Regions from separate parts of the Homo sapiens genome. Here region 1 is linked to region 2. Evidence: promoter capture Hi-C in human tissues and cell types (Jung and others, 2019). All regions are on one chromosome and are shown on one strand. The core of a region is centred on a gene start or on the middle of the fragment in contact, and the rest is flanking DNA. Distances in the headings are between cores, read along the strand shown. Region 1 holds the start of CADM4 (cell adhesion molecule 4). Region 2 holds the start of DEDD2 (death effector domain containing 2).

Region 1 (6,953 bases), core at 84-2,583, 1.4 Mb before region 2:
AGCCTGGCCAGCATGGCAAAACTCCGTCTCTACTAAAAATATAAAAATTAGCTAGGCATGGTGGCGGGCGCCTGTAATCTCAGCTACTCGGGAGGCTGAGGCAGGAGAATCACTGGAACCTGGGAGGCAGAGGTTGCAGTGAGTCGAGATCGTGCCACTGCACTCCAGCCTGGGCAACAGAGCGAGACTCCGTCTGGGCGGGGAGGGGGGAGGGGGGAAGGAAAGATGTTCATAATTGGCACTTCTGGACCTCAGTTTGCCTGACAAATGGGCATGAGAGAGGTCGAGGCCTTCTTTCCATGGTTTCTCACTCTTTCTGGGTCCCATAGGTAATGATCCCGCATCAGGTCTACAGGGTGTCACAGAAGTGGGCTCAGGGAAACCCACTCCCAGGAGGGAGAAGGGACCTAAGTCTGGAGGGGTGAGTCACCCTCAAAGATGGGGAGAGAGGAAGGGCAGAGGCAAATACATGCAGAGAGAGGGAGAGAGGCTGGGGCAGGGAGACAGCAGGGAGGAGAGGGGACGCCAGGGCTTGGAAGGTGTTCACAGGAGCCTCTCCCTCCTGGGACCCAGGATTCAGGCTTCCTTCCAGTTAGTTCACTTTCAGGGGGCCCCTCCCGGAGAATGACGCGGAAACACGGGGTTTTCAGGTCAGGACAGGAGAGAGGGAGGGAGGGAACTGACCCCACCCCACTCCTGAGCCCCAGCCTCGCCCTGCCCTGGGAGATCCTTGACCTGCCTCGACCTCCGGACCCTCCGGACCTCCAGCTGCAGCCTCCCCTGTCCCGGTGGCTCAGCTCACAGCCTCTCGCTAGACTCCAGACACCCACCTGCCCGCAGCACGCCTCTCACACTCACCTTTCCCACGTCGCACTCCCTCCCTTACGCTCCCCCGTCACGCTGGCCACGCTCTCCCTTCGCACACACCGCACCCCACGACGCCCGCGCCCCCACCCTCGCACAGCCTCCAGCAACACCCTGCCACCCTCCCCTCCGCGCAGCGCAAGCACCCTGCATGCCAGCAACTCCGCACCCTCGCGCGCAGCACCTGGGCCCGCACGCAGCACCCTCACCCAACACCCTCCATTTCCCGCGCTCACCGAGATCCCCCACCTGCTCCCACGCCGCTGTCGCCCTCCCGCGCACCCCTTCCCGCCCTCCTCACCCCTCTCCTCTCCAGCTTTCGCACCCCGCACCGTTCCCCCACCGTGCCGTCCCCCCGATTGTCTCCGGGCCTCTCCTCCGTCTCCCCCTCCCCTCCCCGGCCCCGCCCCGGCCTCGGCGCCCCGCCCCCGGGCGGGCAGGGGGCGGGGCGCGGGGGGCGGGGCGGGCGGCGCGGGCGGTGCAGGTGCCGGGCCGGGAGCGAGCGGCGGCGGCGGCGGCGGCGGCACCATGGGCCGGGCCCGGCGCTTCCAGTGGCCGCTGCTGCTGCTGTGGGCGGCCGCGGCGGGGCCAGGTAGGGTCGGGGGCCGGGGTCGGCCGGCCGGGCTGGGGCGGGGGGCGCGCTGTGGTGACAGCCCGGCAGCCTCGGGGCCGCAGAGGCCGAACAATGCGCGCGGGGCCGGGCCGGGCCCCCTCCCCGGGACAAAGCGCAGCGCGGGCCGGGAGCCGGGAGCGACGAGCGGGGGAGGGGGCGCGGGGCCCGGCCGCCGTGCCGCAGCCCCCCCACCCGCGCAGGCTGGATCCCGGCGGGGACAAAGGGCCCGAGACCCCCCTACACACACAAGTCCGCCCTCCCCAGGCCGGTCCCGCTGTCCTTCTGTCCAGTCTCTGCGTCCCTCTGTCCGCCCGTCTCTGAACCCCCCCGTCTGGCTCCTCGTCCCCCTACCCTTGTCCTCTATCCCTCAGTCTCGAAGTCCTGTCCCTCCTTCTGTCTGTCTCCCTCTCTTCTTGCCTCGGTGTTCCTCATCTATTCTGTCTTTGTCCCCTACCTCTGTCCCCTGGTCTCTGTCCCCTTTTCCTGGGTCACTCTGTCCCCTCCATCATCCTGTCTATTCTCTTTCCCCCGGATTTCTGCCCTCCCTCTCTGCCCCTATTCTTGGTCCCTGTCTCTGTCTCGCTGTCACCCTTGTTTTTCTGTCCCTTTTTCTCTGTCCCCTATCTGCCCCATCCCCTTGTCTCTGTCCCCTGTCTTTCTGTCACTCGTTTCTCTAACCCTTTCTGTCACCTGTCTCTTTCCCCCTTCTCTGTCCCACTATCTCCATCCCTGTCTTTCTGCTGTGCCTCCTCTCTCTACGCTTACAGCCTCCATCCCGGGATCTCCCATTCCCATCCTACCTTCCTCCCTCTCTCTATCCCTCTGTGCCCCTGAAGAGGAATTCAGTCAGGCAGGGCATTCTAAAGAGCCCTGGAGGGGAACATCTGTGTGCATGTGTGTGGGGAAGTGAGAATGGGGGACCTTGGCGTGTAGGCACACACGTGGATTCAGCGAATGCCTCTCCAAACCCTGCTCACCCATTCACACACCCAGGCTTGACTCACAGAGAAGCCCCTGTCCAGGACATCCAGGGAGCCATCCACATACCCTCATCACACACTGTGAGAAGCTGGAGACCCCCGAGGTTGGGTGACCCTGAGAATGGGGACAAGGTCAGGAAATGTCACCCACACACACTCTCACACTGTGTAAGTCTTGAACCTGCCACGGGTCACCCCTCCCTGGTGGATAAGGCCACTTTTGGAAGGAACAGAGGATTGGAAGGTGGCTAGGCAGAAGCAGGAGGGCTGGGTGTTCGGCAGAGATTGGTGAGAGGAGTTATAACCAGGTGGCATGGGGCTGGCGGCCTGGGCTTAAATCTTGGCTCTTGCCATTTGCCATCGCAGCCAATGGTAAACACCTTCCTCTCTCCAGGCTTCTGTTTCTCTTTCTGTAAAGTGAGGATGTTGAACTCAGTGACATGAAAGGGAACGCCAGCTCAGACCGTGAAGGGGTTTCTGGCAAGTTGAGTGCGGTTACATGTTCCCCACTCCAGGGTTTGAGGCAGAGCCATCCTCACCTCGGCCAGGATGAGGGGCAAAGCTGTCCTCTCACTGTCTTTCTTTCTTCTCTAGTCTTCTGTGACTGCTTTAGAACTTGCATCATTACCTCCTTTCTTTACAACAGACATGCCACAATTTCCCAGATGAGAACTTTGGTACCTCAGTGACATTTCCATCAATTTTAATTTATCTTTATTTTTTAGGCTAAACACCAGGCTCATAGAATCCTGGAACTAATGAATCCAGTAAATAAAGAACCTGATGGTACTTTAGAATGCTGACATCTACAGGATTCTAGAATCCAGAAGGCTTTAGAATCTTGACACCTTTAAAGTTCTAGAACCGTGATGGTGTTAGCATGCTAGCATCTTGACGTCTTAAAAATCGTGAAATCTTGATGTCTTGGAGTTCCTGGATCTTGACATCTATGACATTTAGAATCCTGACAGCTTAGAATCATCAGACTTTGAATTCTCAGGATCAGAATATAGCTTAAGGTGACCACCCGCCCCGTGCAAAAGCCTTTCTCTGGTGCTTCTGGGAGTTAGGTCTACAGCCCTGTCCCTCGTTTGATTTCCAAGTCACTGCTTCCTGGCACCCTAACCCTCTCTGTAAACTTTCTCTAAAGTAAATAGTATGTGGCTTTTACCAGTAGAAACTGAGCTTGGTGTCATGGGAAGAGCTCTCAGCTGGGAGCTAAGGAACTTGGGTCCAAGCCTTACCCAGGACCCTTTAGTATAATTTTGCATCAGTCCTTGTCCCTCTCTGGGCCTTACTTTCCCGTTCTGTAAAGCATGGGGTAGGAGGCTGTAGCATGTGGTCTTGGAGGGCCCTTCCTGCTCTCCTTTCCATTGGATATTTCTCAGTGGCCTTGGCTACCACATTTTAGGGGGTATCTGTTGTTCCCACATTTCTCTCTTAGTCACTTCTTCCTCTCTCACCTTGCCCAGCCAGCAGGAATCGGGGGAGATGGGGTGCATTTGCGCCATTTTAAAAACATGTTCTCTCTCTCCTGGTTCATTCATCTTCTGAGCATAGCAGAAGAAGATGAGATTTATGCCCAAAGAAGGATCCAGGGTGGGCAGAGGAGAGAAAGCAAGAGGGAGGGATGGGTTGCCTGCCCAGGGATGCACCCAGGCAGAAATGGGACCCGCAGCCAGAAACTGGGTAGAACAGAAAGGAGGAGAGGAAACAGATATCCAATACAAAGAAAGAATAGAGAGGCTATTAGGAGTTGAGGGGTCTTGTGGAGGGGGCAGTTGTTGGTCCCTAAATAATGTTTCCTTCCCAGGGTGACTCACTTTTTCCTGCTAAAATTCTGACCAGCCACTCTTGAGAATAGGGGGACCCTCCCTCCATTGTGAGTCACCCCAAGGAACAGGTTTTGGAGGTTTCTATCACTGACCCCCCCACCCACCCACCCATGAGCCAGGCGCCTGTGTCCCCAGAGCCTGGGGGTGGGGGTCAGGTTCTGCAGTGGATTCCAAGACCTTAGACACAGCAGGGCTGGGGCCTAAGGCTGGGTTAATGTCGTGCGAGCCTGGCCTGTCCCCATCTTGGAGAACACAAAGGCAGCTTTCTCTCTCTGGGAGGGGTGGGGGGTGGCCTGGAGACAGTCAGACCCGCCAGCATCCAATGGCCTGTGGCATCAGAACGGAAGCACCCACTGATTTCCGCCTGTGCAGACCCCAGGCCCATAGGGAGCAGGCACGCAGGCTCCTCCGTGGGCACCCAGTGGGGCAAGGGGCAGGTGCTGAGCCTGGGCTCTTCTGGGAAGAGGGGGTGAATAGAGGGCACTGGGCGTGGAGGTTCGGACAGAGGGAGCTCAGTGCAGGCCTGCACCCTTCCCGGAGCAGGAATTCCTCTCGTACCCCACACCCAGGGAGGACCTCTGGGGGACTCCCCACTCCCTGGCTGGGCCTGAGGCCTGGAATCCAGGGAGTCCCGAATATCCCAGGAATGTGGGGGCCACAGCGGGGACTTTGTGTGTGAGGTTGCTGACTCACCCCTACGCCCCCACCTGATGCCTAGGTCCCCAGATGGGAGGGGACAGAGGATTGAGGAAAGGCAGGACTGTGCTTCTAGGGGTTGAGGACTGGGGAGTTAGAGTCAAAAGTTTTCAGGAGAGGAGGGGCTGGATCTGATGGAGGAGGGGCTGGGGGCCTGGACTCCTGGGTCTGATGGAGGAGGGTCTGGGGGCCTGGACTAATGGGTCTAAAGGAGGAGGGAGCTAGGGTCTTAGACTCCTGGGTCTCAAGGAGGAGGGGGCTGAGGTCTTAGGCTCCTGGGTCCAGGGAGGAGGGGGCTGGGGTCTTAGACTCCTGAGTCTGAGGGAGGAGGGGCTGGGGTCTTAGACTCCTGAGTCTGAGGGAGGAGGGGCTGGGGTCTTAGACTCCTGGGTCTGAGGGAGGAGGGGCCTGGGATCTTAGACTCCTGAGTCTGAGGGAGGAGGGGCCTGGGGTCTTAGACTCCTGAGTCTGAGGGAGGAGGGGCCTGGGATCTTAGACTCCTGAGTCTGAGGGAGGAGGGGCCTGGGATCTTAGACTCCTGAGTTTGAGGGAGGAGGAGGCTGGGGTCTTAGACCCCTGGGTTTAAGAGAGGAGAGGGCCGAGGGCTGGAACTCCTGTGTCCGGAAGGAAAAGGGGGCTGGGAGTCCACACTCCTAGGTCTTGAGGGAGGAAGGGATGAGGATACAGACTCCTGGGTCCTGAGGGAGGAAGGGGCTGGAGGCGGGGGATTCCACTGCAGGTTTCTGAGGGAGGAGGGGCTGAGACCCTGACGCCTAGGTCCTGCGAATACAGGCGCCTTCACAAGGCTGAGCTGGGGAAGAATTGACGCTTTGTGCGAGGATGTTCGGACTCCGCCATTGATGGGGGGCTGAGGGGGGTTCAGTCAGGACGCAGGGATGTACCACCTCCCTAAGGGAGGAAGGGGGAAGGAGGCAGGATGCCAGGAGCCCCCTGGGGAGCGGATACAGAGGGGGTGGTGGTGACCTTCCCGGAACTATGACCTTGAGACTCCCTTGGGTATTCGCTGACTCAGGACCCAGGAAGCGCTCCCCCCACCCTGCTTAGTCTCCGTGGAAACATCCACCAGCTGTGTACTCTGGACCCCTGGCTCCTGGGTCCTGAAGGAGGAGGGGGCTGGAGGCCCAGACTCCTGTGTCTAAGCTAGGAGAGGGCTGGGGGCTCTGACTCCTAGGTTTGAAGGAAGGGGCTGCTGACAGCCCAGACTCCTGGGTCCTGATCGAGAAGGGGGCTAGGGGTCTGGATTTCGGGAACCTGAGAGAGGAGGTGGTTGGGGGCTGAATTCCTGGGTCTAAGGCGGAAAGAAGCCGGGGTTCCAGACTCCTGGAACCTGATGGAGGAGGGGCTGGGAGCCTAGACTCCTGGGTCCTGGGAGAGGAGGTAGTTGGGGGCTGGATTCCTGGGTCTTACGCATTACCTGCTCCGCCACTCTTTCCCAAACCCTCCCTGTCCCCTTTTCCAAGCACCATCCCCATGACGACTCCTGGCTGTCAACACAGTTTAAAGGGCCAGTGCCTCAGTCCCCAAAGCTCAGCCCCTCTCTGACCAGAAAGTCCCGCCCCCACCACCCCCAACCCCCCAAACAAAAGCTGCTGAGACATTAATATTCCAGGCACAGACACTGTTGGTTACTGACTCCTCAGGAGGGGGAGGGAGTAAAACAAAAGACCCCCACCCTCACCCCATGTGCACCCTCAAGCAGAGAGCAGGGGATAAATTTGGTGGGGGCAGATCCAGAGGAACCTGATGGCTCCCAGGAGATGGTGAGTTTTGCCACTGACTTGCCTGGGACCCGCTAAGCCTCATTCTCCACATCTGTAAAATGGGGGGCTAGCACTGAACCAGTCTTGAGGTCCAGGATCTGTGGATAGGCTTCGAGATGTTTTTAAAAGCACCAGAATGTGCATGCCAGTTTTCACATGCATGGGCATGTTTCCGGAGGTTGCA
Region 2 (7,170 bases), core at 937-3,436:
ACACATGCACAGCGCTCATACACTGTAGGCGCCCACTACAACCCACTTAGCAAGACAGAATCCTTCACAGTTTGTTAAATTGCTTTCCTATTCTCCCTACTCTTCGTTTGATTTAATGATAGTCACTTACCAGGCCCCCTTGTGAGTTTAGCCCAGGACTATGCTTCCGTAGCTTACCATTGCCATCCATTTGTTTCACAAGTAGGGAAACTGAGGCCCAGAGAGGGGAAGGGATTTCTTGGAGGGTTTGTTTGTTTGTTTGAGACGGAGTCTCACTCTGTCGCCCAGACTGGAGTGCAGTGGCACGATCTTGGCTCACTGCAACCTCCGCCTCCCGGGTTCAACCGATTCTCCTGCCTTAGCCTCCCGAGTAGTTGGGATTACAGGTGTCCACCACCACGCCCGGCTAATGTTTGTATTTTTTAGTAGAGACGGGGTTTTGCCATATTGGTCAGGCTGCTCTCGAACTCCTGATCTCAGGTGATCCACCCGTCTCGGCCTCCCAAAGTGCTGGGATTACAGGCGTGAACCACCGCGTCCGGTCTTGTTTGTTTGTTTGAGACAGAGTTTTGCTATTGTTGCCCGGACTGGAGTGCAATGGCGCAATCTCGGCTCACGGCAACCTCCGCCTCCAGGGTTCAAGCGATTCTCCTGCGTCAGCCTCCCGAGTAGCTGGGATTACAGGCATGCGTCAGCACGCCCGGCTAATTTTGTATTTTTAGTAGAGATGGGGTTTCTCCATGTTGGTCAGACTGGTCTCGAACTCCCGACCTCAGGTGATCCGCCCGCCTCGGCCTCCCAAAGTGCTGGGAATGCAGGCGTGAGCCACCGCACCTGGCGTTTGTTTGTTTCTTGAGACAAAGTCTCGCCCTGTGGCCCAGGCTGGAGTGCAGTGGCACTATCTCTGCTTACTGCTCCCTGGTTCAAGAGATTCTCTTGTCTCAGCCTCCCAAGTAGTTGGGATTTCAGGCGCGTGCCACCACATCCGGCTAAGAACAGACAGGGTTTCATCATGTTGGCCAGGCTGGTCTCGAACTCCTGGCCTCGTGTGATCCGCCCACCTCGGCTTCTCAAAGTGCTGGGATTACAGACGTGAGCTACCGCGCGCAGCCGATTCTTTTGAATTCACTGCTACAGCTCAGGCAGAGCCAGTACTGGGCCAGTGCTAGGCAGGACCCAGATCTCCCGACTCCCAAGAGGAGTTAATTGCGGGGGTGGGAAGAGGTCCAGGGAGGGGACTTGTCTCAAGTACATGCAGGTCCTGACCTTGAGTCACCTAAGTGGGGGGCGTGGCGACCGTCACACCCAAGGCCCCGCGGTAAGGGGACACGCATACACCACAGCCTAGACTCCCTGACAGACCCTCTCTAGTTGTTGCAAGTTAGGGAGCGGGTATCTGGGCGACCCTGGAGGGCAGAGATTGGAAGGGGTTACGGAGGGGCCGTTTTGGCTCTGGGTGGAGACATCTGACTGTGATGGGGGTCGTGATGGACGCCATCGAGATGTACACAGTCGGAATGGAGGGTTCTGTTGCCGCTTGGAAGGAGGTATCCGTCCTGAACGTGAGATGAGGGAATTCTGGTTTTGATCAGGGGAAGGAACTTATAGACTGCGGGGGTGGTGGTGGGGGGGCGGGATTTCCATTTGGGATCACGAGAGAGCACAGTTGAGATGTAGATCCCTGGTTGTCACTAGAAGTGAGGGACAATCTAATGGAGGAGTGCCCAGGACCAGATCATATAAGGCCTGGGAGTTTACTGGGAGACGGGAAAGTAGTGATTGTGTTACTTTGCCACGGGCAACTAGGGGCAGTGGTGATGTGGGCGTCTAGCTCGTGATCAGGAGGGGGCTGTAGTTTATGAGATGAGTAGTTACAACTACTCGTGACGTGGCGCTACATGGCCCCGGTGGCTTGAGTCACGGGCAGGAAGTAGGGACCTGGAACCGGGTACCAGATACAGCCCAAGAGGCGGCGTGCTCTCGCTCTGCGCAAGCGCAGCACTCGCGAACCAAGATGCTTCGGTTGGGGGCAGGTCAAGCGGCCCAGGAAGGGCGGGGCTTGGAGGCCTCGTTCTGCGCATGCGCCGAAGGGGCGTGGCGGTCGCACCTGCGCGAGTTGGGGGAAGGAGGAGGGGCGAGGTGACGCAGGCGTAATAATAGAGAAGGTGCCAGAAAGATCCAAAACAAGTGGCTGCGGCCGTCGCCCAGGAGTCATCGGACGCCAGAATCTGGTGAGGATCCAGAGAGGCCTAATGGTGACTGGTGGCGGGTAGACAGGACCACCTGGGCTCTGGGGAGCGGGCGGGGCCGCCCTTGCAGGGCGAGGGGGTCGGGTTCGGACGGTACCACCTGTGTGGAGCAAAGGGGCTGCCTGGGTCGCTCCTCTGTGTAGGGGGCAGAGGGTCACTTTCGGGAGGTACCACTTGCGTAGAGCCGGGGGACTCATCAGACGGTACCGCTGGACGGAGAAAAGGGGCTCGTCTGGGCAGTCCTACCCAGAGTCAGGGGCAGTCAGCAGGGAGCCCCGGGGTGGGCCCCGAGGCTTGTTTGGGCCGCATCGTTTGGTCAGGTCCGGAGGCGAGCTCCGAACGTAGCACGGTGGTGGGGGCAGAAGCCGAGCGGGCTCCGGCGTCCCGACCTGTTCTTAGGGGACCTCGGGCGGGACCATTCCCTCCCGGGGGAGGGGGAGGCCGAGGCGGTTGGGGGTGCGGGAGCGGCCCTGCCCGGCGCGATTGGGCGGGGGAGACGCGCTGGCGGTGTGGGGTTCGGGCCTCCGCGTCGCTGACCACTGCCCCCTCCCCGCTGTGTGGGTTCTAGGCCGGGTTCTGAGCTTGTTCCGCCTCCCTCCCCCGGGAATGGCGCTATCCGGGTCGACCCCGGCCCCGTGCTGGGAGGAGGATGAGTGCCTGGACTACTACGGGATGCTGTCGCTTCACCGTATGTTCGAGGTGGTGGGCGGGCAACTGACCGAGTGCGAGCTGGAGCTCCTGGCCTTTCTGCTGGATGAGGCTCCTGGCGCCGCCGGAGGCTTAGCCCGGGCCCGCAGCGGCCTAGAGCTCCTGCTGGAGCTGGAGCGCCGCGGGCAGTGCGACGAGAGCAACCTGCGGCTGCTGGGGCAACTCCTGCGCGTGCTGGCCCGCCACGACCTGCTGCCGCACCTGGCGCGCAAGCGGCGCCGGCCAGGTACGGTTGAATGGGAGGGTGTCACACTTCCTGGGAGGAAAGGGCCTGGCTCCCGCTGGGCCTCCCTGGTGCCCTGATACGGACAGTGCCATATCAGGCAGCTTATGTCCCATTCTGCTACTCTCTCTTCCCACAATATCAATGAGCAACATAAGAGGAAGAAAGCATGGCTTTGGGAATTTGGCCACATCAGTGATGATGATTTTGGCCACTGTTTACGGAGGGCTTGTTTCATGCCAGGCACAGCTGTCAGCCCTTCATATGAACTAGTGCCTTATAGTCTCCCAGTAATCTCACAAGGAAGTCCTGTTACTGTCTTCACTGTAACCAAGAAAATAACAAGTTCAGAGAAGTTAAGCAGTTTGCACGTATAATAACAATCCTGTTTGCTGGGCCTAGGAGGGATACAGGATGATGGAGCTGACAAGGTGTTTGTTCCATGAAGTTTAAGTTTAGTGGGGGCAATCAGATAATAAGAGAACTTATTTTTAGACGCTGTTGTAGGAAGACTAAAAGTAATGGAATAGAGAGAGTCAGGAGAGCAGCAAGGTGAAGGGAGGCTTTGCCCTGAGGCTGCACTGCCAGCCATGCATAGACCCCAGGGGAGAAAATCCCAGGGAGCATCCAAGGCCTGAGGTGGGAATGAGTTTGGCATCATCAGAGGCCAGTGTGGCAGGAGCAGAGGGGACCCAAGCTAGGGAAGAGAGGGAGGTAAGAAGTTATGTCATGAAGGGGCTTGCAGAGAACGTAGCTGGGAAGTGTGGGAGCCAGGATTCAAACCTAGCCAACTTGTCCCCAGAGTTGATGCCCTTAATCCTTGTGAAGGAAGTGCTCCTGGAGGATAGCAGCCTTCACATGAGAAGCTGGGAGGGGTTCAGGCTGCCGGTAGCCGTGTGCATGAATAGACCAAGCCTTTGTCTGGGTTACTAAAGGGGCAGTGGCTAGTTTGGGGAGGGGGGATTATGGCCTTCCCTGACCCAGAGTAAGCCCACAGGATTTAGATAAGCAGGAGAAGGACAGCTCTAGGGAAGAGCTGACAGCATTTTTGGATATCTATGTCTGAAGATCACGCTCTAGAAGAGAAGATTTGGGGAGCCTGCACAGAGGCCTGCTTACTCCTTGGGGAGAGCTGGGGGCAGTTGATGCCAGGGCAAAGGGCCATTACAGGGACCCTTACCATGACTATCAACAGAATAACCTTGACAGTTTGAGCTGCCGTAGACGTGGGTTAGATTGCCCCAAGTCGTGATAAGTTCTCTCTCTTAGGAGGCATCTGAGCAACCTCTGCAGGAGGTGTTTGAGAATGAGTGGGTATTTGGGCTCTGACTACTGGGGAACTTAGGCACCTCGTGGTGCAGGCATTCTTCCAGGGGTGGGAATTAGGGCCAGGAGGCTGAATGCTTCTTCCTGTTCTTCTCTTCCTCCAGTGTCTCCAGAACGCTATAGCTATGGCACCTCCAGCTCTTCAAAGAGGACAGAGGGTAGCTGCCGTCGCCGTCGGCAGTCAAGCAGTTCTGCAAATTCTCAGCAGGGTCAGTGGGAGACAGGTGAGCCCAGCTGGGTGGGTGTAATGGCAGCATCCCTCTTTTCCTTATGAATTGTGCCCATCAAGGAAGGGGCCTGAGGGGTTATTCTGTCTCATTTTCACTGTGTGTGTGTGTGTGTGTGTGTGTGTGTGTTTATTGCTACAGATACTCTGTTCTGAAGCAACATACAGAATTGTTGCACATAGTTTCGTGTTTCGTTTAAATGGCATTACATTGTGGGTATTACTCTGCACCTGGCTGTCTTTGCTAGATGTGTCTGAGATTTATTCATGCTGAGTATCTCTAATTGTATTATTTTAATTGCCATGCCCCAATTAACTTATTTATTCTCACCACCCCCAGTTTTTGTTTTTTTCTGTTTGGCTTTTTCAAGATAGGGGCTTGGTCTGTCACCCAGGCTGGAGTGCAGTGATGAAATCATAGCTCTCTGCGGCCTTGAACTCCTGGGCTCAAGCTGTCCTTCCACCTCAGCCTCTCAAGTAACTAGAACTACAGGGGTATGCCACCATGCCTGGCTAATTTTTTCATCCTTTATAGAGGTGTGGTCTCCCCCTTGTTGTCCAGGCTGGTCTTGAACTCCTAGCCTCAAGCAGTCCTCCCACCTCAGCCTCCCAAAGTGCTGGATTACAGGCATGAGCCATCATGCCAGCCACCTCTAGTTGTTGTTGTTGTTTTGAGGCAGAATCTCATTCTGTCACTCAGGCTTCGGTGCAGTGGTGCAATCTCGGCTCACTGCAACCTCTGCCACCCAGATTCAAGCAATTCTCCTGCCTCAGCCTCCCAAGTAGCTGGAACTACAGGCGCATGACACCATGCCTGGCTAATTTTTTTGTATTTTTAGTAGAGATGAGGTTTCACCATGTTGCCCAAGCTGGTCTCGAACTCCTGGCCTCAAGAGATCTGCCCACCTGGGCCTCCGAAAGTGTTGGGATTACAGGCTTGAGCCACTGCGCCCTGGCCACCCCTCTTTTTATTATGTGAAATTTCAAACATACAAGTTGAAAGATTAGTACAGTTAACATCTTCCACTTAGGTTCAATAATTGTTAAGATTTTGCTACTTTTGCTTTATGTGTATACGTAATTCTGGATTTTTTTGTTGAACCCTTTGAAAGTAAATTACAGACATCAGGATGCTTTACCCCTAAATTAGGCATCCGTGGAGAATAAGGATATTCTCCTGTACCACTTTAAGACTATTATACCTAAGAAAATAAACACGAATTCTCTGACATTCTAATGGTCCATTTTCAAAAATCCCCAGACTGTGGGACCGTTCAGAATCTATTCATAGTTGAGTTGGTATGCATTCAGTTGTTATGTCTCCTGCTATAGCACAGAAACTGCCCCTACACCCCATACCTTTTTCTTTTTCCTGTAACATTGATTTTTTCACCCTAGCAGGCCGGTTGTTTTGTAGAATGTCCTGATTGTTTCTTTATCTGTCTGTTTTTTTCCTGATGGAGTTATGTAACTCGTCCCTCTTTCCCTTACATTTTTTGTTAAATGGGAATTGTGTCTGAGGCTTGGTTAGATTCAGTTTATACATCTTTAGCAGGAATAATCCTTGGTTGCTGCCATCTAGTTCATATTGGAGTACATCTCCAGGCATGTACGGCCTGGCTTTTCCGATGTGGGAAAGTTTGGTCACTTGGTTAAGGGGATATCTGCCATGTTTGTCCATTGTGAAGGGACATTTAGTTCTCATGGTTAGTAAACAGTCTATGGGGTGATACTTTGGCATATCCTGTTCCCTAATAGCCATTTACTCAGTGGGTTTCACATCTATGAGCTTTGCCTGAACCAGTTATCACATTGGTGTTTGCAAAATGGTGATTTTTCTAATTCTTTTTCTTTTTTCTTTCTCTTTCAAGAGGTATTCCCCCAATGCCCCTTTGAGTTTGAGTGTCACTATAGACCCATACACTATTTACTGACTTGTTACAGTCAGTCAGTCTTCCTGCAGTTCCAACTGGCTAGCCTCTTGTGTCTTCTTCATGTGTTTGTATCATTCTTTGTGTGCTTCCTGCTTTGTGGCACTGCAAGATGTCCTGGGCTGACTTTGAACTTTCCCTTCCGCACCCTAGAATCAGCTGTTTTTCAAGGAAGCTGTGGTATTTAGAGACCAAAACCTGGGTGTTGAGTGTGTATATTGTTCTAGGTTCTTTCAGTGAACAGTGTTAGAGACTTGACTTTTCAAAAAGTTTCTGTTAGTATTTTAAAGATTAATGTTATAGCCATGTTTGGTGGCTCATGCCTGTAATCTTAGTGCTTTGTGTGGCTGAGGCAGGAGGATTGCCTGAGGCCAGGAGTTCGAGATCAGCCTGGGCAATATAGTAAGACCCTGTGTCTAAAAAGATAAAAAACCTAGCCGGGTGCAGTGGCTCACACCTGTAGCCCCAGCAGTTTGGGAGGCTAAGGCGGGTGGACTGCTTCAGCCC

The links. Contacts are between HindIII fragments. The study calls those that stand out against the background at their distance.
Region 1: the fragment with the promoter of CADM4 here is called in contact with the fragment with the promoter of DEDD2 in region 2 in 1 of the 25 tissues and cell types used here (dorsolateral prefrontal cortex).

The regions. Positions count from the first base shown.
Region 1 is chr19:43,634,230-43,641,182 of GRCh38, reverse strand. It overlaps CADM4 (cell adhesion molecule 4), which reads left to right and starts at 1,333. Exons shown (of 9, transcript NM_145296.2): 1 at 1,333-1,456. The coding sequence starts at 1,393. LOC105372411 (a long non-coding RNA gene) reads right to left here. Exons shown (of 4, transcript XR_001753942.2): 4 at 6,165-6,953. RefSeq lists a silencer at 1,310-1,449. The HindIII fragment of the contact is 16,381 bases long and covers 1-6,953 here.
Region 2 is chr19:42,212,693-42,219,862 of GRCh38, reverse strand. DEDD2 (death effector domain containing 2) reads left to right here and starts at 2,186. Exons shown (of 5, transcript NM_133328.4): 1 at 2,186-2,231; 2 at 2,818-3,183; 3 at 4,611-4,730. The coding sequence starts at 2,856. RefSeq lists enhancers at 75-950, 951-1,827 and silencers at 2,599-2,698, 2,709-2,768, 2,850-3,055. The HindIII fragment of the contact is 17,474 bases long and covers 1-7,170 here.